Regions from separate parts of the Homo sapiens genome. Here region 1 is linked to region 2. Evidence: promoter capture Hi-C in 16 types of primary human blood cells and fetal thymus (Javierre and others, 2016). All regions are on one chromosome and are shown on one strand. Each heading gives the region's core, a stretch centred on a gene start or on the middle of the fragment in contact. The rest is flanking DNA. Distances are from core to core; before and after follow the strand shown. Region 1 has its middle 41 kb from the start of DOCK9-DT. Region 2 holds the start of GPR183 (G protein-coupled receptor 183).

What was found. The method cuts DNA at HindIII sites, captures the fragments that hold promoters and counts their contacts. A CHiCAGO score of 5 or more calls a contact.
Region 1: a contact is called between a fragment that was not itself captured here and the fragment with the promoter of GPR183 in region 2, in 1 of 17 cell types (non-activated CD4 T cells). The highest score is 5.2, in non-activated CD4 T cells.

The regions. Positions count from the first base shown.
Region 1 is chr13:99,043,253-99,047,458 of GRCh38, reverse strand. It overlaps a transcript of DOCK9 not described here. Among named protein-coding and RNA genes, the nearest start is that of DOCK9-DT, 41 kb to the left of the region's middle. The HindIII fragment of the contact is 6,261 bases long and covers 1-4,206 here.
Region 2 is chr13:99,304,800-99,309,342 of GRCh38, reverse strand. It overlaps GPR183 (G protein-coupled receptor 183), which reads left to right and starts at 1,944. Exons shown (of 2, transcript NM_004951.5): 1 at 1,944-2,003. All of the region lies in intron 4 of UBAC2 (UBA domain containing 2), which reads right to left. The HindIII fragment of the contact is 4,315 bases long and covers 1-2,476 here.

The sequences.
Region 1 (4,206 bases), core at 440-2,939, 260 kb after region 2:
AAGGAGTGAAAATAAATGAGACTAAGAAGATGTTCTTAGGCCCCAGAATGTTTAAAAGTAGAAAGACAATTTCCTTATTCTAACCTGGGGACCCTGATGGTAACAGACGTGCTTATGTGCTGCGATGGCAGCTGATACTCCTCAGCCTGTGGTTCTCTGCCCCATCCAGAGAGAGCCTGAATCTATACACAGAAAAGGCTGTGTTTCTGAGGAAATAAAAAATATGTACTTTTAAAATTTTCTAAATAGGCCCTACTTCTAGGGTCAGCTGGCGTGTATTTCAATTAGCACATTATCTTGGGAAACTTTACCATGAGGAAAAGTTTACTCATAGGCTTGGCCATTTTTATTTATTTGACCCCCATGAATAGTCCAACATAGCCACCAAAAATTGCACAGATGTCAGTGGCTGTTTGGCCGTGTTTTAAATAAATATTTTGTCTTTTAATCATCAGAGATAGGAGATTAAACCTGGACTCGTCCAACTTTGGCTCTCTTCACGCTCATCCTTATGGGAGAGGAAGTGTCAAGATGGGCTTTCCTTTGGAGCATAACCTAAACAGGAACCTTTTAAAAACCTATCCAAAGCTACACTTTGTACCTTAAACGCAGGCATGAAGTATGAGACATTTCTGGTGATGTCTTCAGGAGGATTAAGAGGTCAGGAGTTAGATGTAAGAATGAAAGTAAAGTAAGTGATAGATCTAGGCAGAGAAAGATGTTGACATCTGAGCTTATACTCTGAATAAAACAGGTTTCCAGGCTGTGTGTGTTTATTTTACACCCATGCACTTACACACAGTATGTGATAACACAGCAGTGATTCACAGTGGCTCTTCAAGGCCCCTCATCTGTGAGTCCTGGACTTTCCTGTCAGGTGTGCCCCCTCATAACCAGGCATGTTCTATGAGGTGTTTACTGTCGAGACAAGTCCCACAAGTTGGGCAACCCTTTAAGTGCTGTTTTCCGGAGCGCAGCTAAGGAGGTTAGCATACTGGGCGCAAAATCCTTCCTCCTTTTGAAAACCTCAAAACCAACAAACTACTTCCTCTGTTAATCTCATGGGTGAGTGGCAAAGCCCAGGCCAAGCCCTTGGTTGTGCAATGTGTTATGGCCCTGGAGTTAAGGATCCTCCTACTCAAAGCAGGAGGGCATCATTCCAGCAAAACCTGTTGGTGTGCGTCCCACCTTCCAAGTGAAGATATGCCAGGTGGGAGGTCGCTCGGCTTGTTCTGCCCCGTGCTGAGCCTGGGCTCAGTGTTGGGACATACATTTCTGCCTTTTCTGTCGTTGCTTAAGATATTTCCTGGTTGTCTTGTGAATTCTAGACACAGTGATGCTGGTTTTTTTTTTTTTTTGAGACTGAGTCTCACTCTGTCACCCAGGCTGGAGTGCAGTGGCACAATCTCAGCTTACTGTAAGCTCCGCCTCCCGGGTTCACGCCATTCTCCTGCCTCAGTCTCCTGAGTAGCTGGGACTACAGGCACGTGCCATCAAACCCGGCTAATTTTTTTTTTTTTTTGTATTTTTAGTAGAGATGGGGATTCACCGTGTTAGCCAGAATAGTCTCAATCTCCTGACCTCATGATCCGCCCGCCTCAGCCTCTCAAAGTGCTGGGATTACAGGTGTGAGCCACCGCACCCGGCTGCTGTTTTTTTTGTTTTGTTTTGTTTTGTTTTTAAAAAGATGATTAAGCTGGTGAGGCATCTCTTTTTATATATGCATTTTTTGACAAAAATTCCGTATATTTAGGGTATACAACATGATGTTTTAAAATTGGAATGGTTCAATCAAGCTAAGTAACATGCAATACTTCACATACTTAACATTTTCTGTGGTGAGAACTCAGTTCTACTCTCAGCTATTTATTTACTGTAGTCACCATGTTTATACTGTATTCCCCCTAGCTAACTGAAATTTTGTATCTTTTTACCAACATCTCTCCAAACCCCACCCCCAGCCCCTGGTAACCACCATTCTACTCTCTACTTCTGTAAGTTTGACTTTTTTAGAGTCTACATCTAAGTGAGGTCATGTAGTATTAGCCTTTCTTTGCCTGGCTTACTTCATTTAACATGATGTCCTCTATGTTCATGTTGTTGCAGACGATTTCTTTCTCTTTTGCGCCTGAATGATATTTCATTGTGTATATACGGTATACACCATATTTTATTTATCCATTTATCCACTGATGGCCACTTAGGTTGATTCCATATCTTAGCTGTTGTGAATAGTGCGGCCATGAACATGGGAGTGCAGATATCGCTTTGACACAGCGATTTCATTTTCTTTGGGCAAGTACCCGGTAGTAGGATTGCTGGATCATATGCTAGTCCTATTTTTAATCTTTTAAGGAACCCCCATACTGTTTTCCACAGTGGCTTCACTAATTTACAGTCCCACAAACAGCATGCAGGGATTCCCTTTCCACCACATCCTCTTAGTGAGACATCTCTTGAAGAAGGTCTGTCGACTTGGGTACCACTGAATGGTTTGTGGGTGAATATGTCTATGGGCTGGAATTGTGGTGGGAGTTCCCCTCTGCTCTCAGTATGGTAAAATCCTGTCCTGCTCCTGAGAAACACGGGTAGGAAGGCATGGAGGAGCTTGTGCATGTGATGGAAGAACCTGGCTGTACAGTCAGGTGACAGTCCTTTTGGTTTTTCTTTTACTTACGGCTTTAAGCACTGTATTATAGTTTGGGGAGAATGATTGCTCTTGTCTTCAACACATTGTTAATAAGGGAGCCCAAAGTTTGTGTCTTTTAAGTTAGCTCCGTAGCTTTTTGTTCTAAACTTTTGTATTTCCAAATTCATTTATTTTTGGTGGCAAAATTTGCACATTTTTAAAGTGTTAGTGAGTAGTCTGTATCACTTTGAAATAAGAGCTAGGAAGCGATCGTGGTATTCATACATAATAGTCTGGTGTTCCTTTCTGGTTGCCATGGTGTGGTGGTCCTGATCAGTGTGGGTCTGACTGGGGTGCTCAGCCAGGTGGCAGACATCTGTGGTCTCTAGAAGCTGAAATACTTCAGCTATAGGAAGCATCTGCTGCTTCAAGAACTTCACAATAAGCATTTATTGATGTCCTACTGTATACCAGGCATCCTGCTGGTTGCTGAGGGAACAAACATGAATAAGACCCACTGCCTGCAGTGTTCTTGATTCAGTGATTCCACCAGAATCAATTACAGGAGGCTGGCTGGTGGCTTCACTCAATGTCTGTGTTTAAGATTAATTTGCTTAATAAAACTCAGGGCAGTGAATACACAGGGTTGGCCCTGGCTTTCCTGTTACGAGCATTCAACAGTGTCGCGTGAGCAGTTGAACATGCCTTGTAAACCATGGTTGAGTCTCCCTGAGCTATTGTTAGCAGATAACTTTAGAGCAGAGCTAATCTGTCATATAAATAAGAATCACAATTGGGTTACATGGTAATTAAATATAAATGGTAAGTGAGTGAGTCACATTTATTCATTCATTCAGCAAACTTTTATTAGAGGCCTCTGGTGCCAGGCAGTGTATGAGGTGCTCTTCTGAGGCTGGTGTGGAGGGATGGTCACACCAGTATTGTCCTGCCTACAGTAGTGGCATATGTAGGGCAGTGGGCGGGGACAAGCAAACACTGAAGCTGGCCGTCCCATCATGGAGGGCCTCAAGGAGGGGGCAGGCTGATTGTGGAAAGGATGTGGGTAAGATGAGGCAGGGTAAAGGAGTAAGTTCTCCTTCATTATTAGCAATTACTTTAGACCCCATGTTCCTTCTGGGATGTCCTCAGCTCCCTTCCCTTACCCCGGTGGACAAGAAAATAGATAGCCTTGGCAGCTGCACTTTTATGTGTCTTGGGTCCTGTTTGTGGACCTGTTTGGCAGCCTCCCTCTCTCCCCGACGTACCTGCAAGTGTCTGAGTCCTCTGCTCCTGGGTTCTGCATGGCAACTGATGGAAAGCTAGAGGGGCTGACTTCCCAGGATATGAGACCGTAGAGAGACAGATGGGCTGCCCCTTCTCAGGGAGAAGAGAGCCTACCTAGGATTTCTGGGCTGGGGCAGGGGTGCCTCCGGGATGGGTGGATTCCCCACAAATGCCCAGGCTTCAGGCAGCCTACAGCTGTTCACTGAGAGTGGGCTGTCTTCAGGGCCAGCTGGAAGAGAAGTTTGATTTCTGAGGCAAGGAATAGACTGATGATATCTTCCCCAGTTTCTTCC
Region 2 (4,543 bases), core at 695-3,194:
GGTCAAGAGATTGAGACCATCCTGGCCAACATGGTGAAACCTTGTCTCTACTAAAAATACAAAAATTAGCTGGGCATGGTGGCATATGCCTGTAGTCCCAGCTACTCGGGAGGCTGAGGCAGGAGAATTGCTTGAAGCCGGGAGGTGGAGGTTGCAGTGAGCCGACAGCACACCCCTGCACTCCAGCCTGGTGAGAGCGAGACTCTGTCTCAAAAAAAAAAAAGAAGGTTGGGAGGACAGATCCAGTTTGTCAGAGGAATTACTTGAACTAGCTGAGTCCTTCACTATATAAAAATGTTTTACTTAATATAACTATTTCAAAATTAACAGGCAAAACCCCACCAGAATGGTCTTTCAACAAACTGAAAAATTTATCAACAGTGTCTTCTTCAAGTACTCTGCAGCCTAAGTTTTAAATGAACTAGTTCTAGAATATGATGTCATGTTTATCCACCAAGTCATAAAATCTCTGTATTACCCCCTCATAGAATTTTTGTACTAGGAATTACCTTGGAGATCATTTAGTTCAATACCTTTATTTTATACACAGTGAGGTGGCGGCCCAAAGAATTCAGCTGACTTGCTTGATGCTCTTTCTTGTGTCTGACAATGTTCCTCCATACTCACAGCACTTTAGACGTTAGAAGAACCTAATGACATCTGTGGGAGGCAAAAGCTACTCGACTATTTTTACAGAATCCTGGAGCAGAAAGGCTTCTGAGATCACAGAGTTACAAATTCCTACCAAATGATTCAATTCTGTTTACATCATCCCTCAAAATCATCAAGTTTACTCAAGCATCTAAATAAGAAACAGCATATTCCATTTTTCAAAATAATCACAACTTTTGGGAATGACTCTCATCTTTTGATCCAAAAGCTATGTCCAGTAACTTCTTACTGACCCTCCCGCTAGTCTCTGGAGTTAGGAAGACTGACACAAGCAATGTAAACACTTTTCTATGAGAGTTTCCACAAGCATAAGGATAATGACCCTATGCCTACAAAGCATACACATCCCCAGCTTATTTAATCAGTTCTCCTAAGACCTGCTATCCAGGCCCCTCACTGCCACAGGTGTTATCTATGTCTTCGTAAAAAGCAGCACCCAGAAGTGGCTGGGAATGGCCAGATCAGTCCTGACTAAGTGTAAACATCACCTCTCCTGATCTGAGTGCTACATATCTGGTAATTTAGCCTACAAATAAACTGCATTCTGACAGACACGTTAGTTGGTTTAAACTGAGTCAACTACAACTATGAGGTGAATGGCATGAGTCTCTTTCACCCTGTGCTGAAGAGGCTGGATTTTATCTATAATGGGCCTCCCTTCAACTGTTTCCCTGTTATTCAAGTACTCACACAGCCTCTGACTCAGGCAGCCTCTCGACTGAAAACGGCGACTAATCCAGTCCACTCCACATCCTGGACTGTCACTCACCCCCACGCCACAGAAACCTGTTTCTTTCTCATAAGCTGTGGATAAGGTGGAATGTGTAAACTACTCCCTGATACCAAGTTTCCAGGTAAAAAGCACTGTCAAAGTTGACACTATTTTCCTTAAAACATTTAAAAACCCATACTTTTACATGCAAAATCAATATAAAATCATCAGTAACTTGGTCTTTTTTTTGGTTAAGGTTTATTGCTTCAGTCTCTTTCAAAGAATTTTTTGATACTTAAACCTTTACAGAAAAATTTATAAAGTTCCACAGATATCAACAATTCATAAATTCCAAGGGGCTTTTGGATAGTTTTTTTTAATCACTATAAAAAATTTCACTTCCCATTTAAAACAAAAAAAAACACAAAGTGCACACACGTACACGAGGCTAACTGCTCATTACATGCTCAGTCACAGGGTGACAGAGAAAAAAAAAGTCACCACCATAAAAGGAGGTCTGCACAGCCTCTCTTAAAACAACATGCCACAGTTAAAACTTACTTCAGTTTGGACAACTACTCACAGCTACTACACAGAGACCCGAACGAGTCACTGATATGTAAGTACAAGATCTTTTGCTTTTTCAACAAACTTTTTAAAGAAAAACTTTAAAAGCCTAAGTTTTAAGGTAAAAGGTAAAAAGGAAAACAATCTATTTAAGAACAAGCTACCATCACTTCTAACAAAAATTATATTAATAATGTAAGTTTACTCTCTCTGCTGACTGGTAGGTCTAGTTAGTTCTTATAAAGTTGACTGAAAGCGATGGGTCCACCAGAAATATCTTTGTCAAAAAATAGGGCTCACTTCATGTACTACTGTATAAACTCACAATGACAAAAGACAGTATCAAGCAAAACTATGCAAATAATGCCAATATTTCAGGATAACTTAGTATGAAGGAAAAGGAACAAAGTTATTTTAATATAGAATATTCCTATGCTATAGGAATTATTAGAAATATAAGATTATTTCTCAGGATAGAATCTCAGGGGTAGAATTCCTAGGGCAAAGGGTATATTTTCTAAAGCTTTAGATATAAAACGGTACTTTTTGGTCTACAAAAACATTTTACCAATTTACCCTCCCGCCAGCAAAGAGTACCAATCTTTGCTTTTTAAATGCTAAATACTACTAATTAGATAAGTGAAAAAAAAGTCTGTTGTGTGGTTTATACTTGTGTTTACTTAGACTAAACGTATCTTTTCTATGTGCCTGAGGGGAAAAAATCACAATGAATTCTATGCAGTGCTTTGGCAACATTTATGTCCAGGTTGGGAATGGTGGTAACAGAAACTTGGCAAAATAGAAGCTGTGAAGAGACTTCCTTTAAAGGGCAGTGAGGGTTTTATATATGTGTGTTTGTGTGTGTGTTGGGGGAGGGGGGCGTGGTATTTTGTTTTTTTGGTGTCACTCTGAGTACAATATAGTGTAATAAGAGCAAGGGCTCTGAAATCAGGATCAAATGAAATTTACAAGCTGTGTGGCCCCCCCACACACAAGTTACCTAATATCTGGCTTCAGCTGCTTTACCTGTAAAATGGGGAGTATTACTACTGCCAAGTCCTTACAACATTGCCTCTCATTATAAGTGCTAAAAAACTGTCTCCCATCATTCTTCTCCCATCTCTCTGGCCACTGACGTACCAGAGGGTGAATCCAACAGATATGTTATGGATATTTTACATAAAGACCCTGAATCAGGCTGGGTGTGGTGGCTCACTCCTGTAATCCCAGCACTTTGGGAGGCCGAGGCAGGCGGATCACCTGAGATCAGGAGTTCGAGACCAGCCTGGCCAACATGGTGAAACCCCATCTCTACTAAAAATATAAAAGTTAGCCAGGCACGGTGGCACTCACCTATAATCCCAGCTACTCAAGAGGGTGAGGCAGGAGAATCCCTTGAACCTGGGAGGCGGAGGTTGCAGTGAGCCGAGATTGCGCCACTGCACTCTAGCCTGGGCGACCATGCGAGACTCTGTCTCGATAGATAAATAAATAAATAAATAAATGGCCCTGAGTCTATGGATGATCACACATCTAACTGTGCTTACTGGTAGGACTGCACACTTCTTATATTTTAGCATGTTTTCTCTCTGCGGGTTCACTGCACTTTTTGGACATAAAACCACAAAGAATATGCTACTCCACAAAATGTTCACTCACATGTTTATGTATCGCGTTAGTGACAATGGTAATGATCCCTTGCATAAATTACTTTCATCTGGCTTCCTAGAGCTAATTAGTACCATGACCAGTCAGTTAATGGAATAAATATTAACTCAGGTTTCTATATGACTTTAATTCATTTATTTATTCTATAGATATTTACTAGATATCTATTGTAGGTTGGTTCTGTAGCATTCTATAGGATAAAATGTTGGATGAGATCAAGTCATCATCCTCAAGAAGCTTACATTTAAAAGAGCTTCGCACCTAATAAAGCCGTTTACAGGGATACTTTTCTCTCTGCTATGGTTAAGACCTGCTGGAGTTGTTAGGCAGCCCTGGACGTGGCCTGTGTAGAGGACGCGTGGTGTTCTCCAGTCTGGGGGGTTTATCACCTTCTCAAGAAGTCTGGGCATTGTATAAAATGAGATAACACATGTGAGAATCCTCTGAAAGCTGTGACAGTAACACAGATGGCTGTGGTGTTTTGGAAGCCCAAAGAGAAGAATAAAAATATTTTGTTAAATCTCTGCAAATATCTAAAAAGTAGTTTAAAAATCAATTAACAGCATAAAAGCCTATTCTAGATATTCACCATCTTTTTTCAATCGAAATTTCAGTCTAAATTGTTTTATTATTAAAATACTGTTAAAACAGTACTCTAAATCCATTTATAAAACCTTTACTTACTTTAAAATATGCTACAAATAAACTAATAAACTCCTTCATTTGAATCAACATCTCTTCCTCCCTGCTCCCATTCCCTTCCCCCAGTTCTCCTAGTCTCTCTTGTTCAGATAGGTATGAGTTAGTGTACGTTAAGGTTTTGAGATGCCTTCCTATTTTACTTGTTTTCTACCCATAATAGCAGATCACGTCGGAAATAGGAGATAAAATGTATTGTACTGAATGTGACTTCTGAAGCCAAAC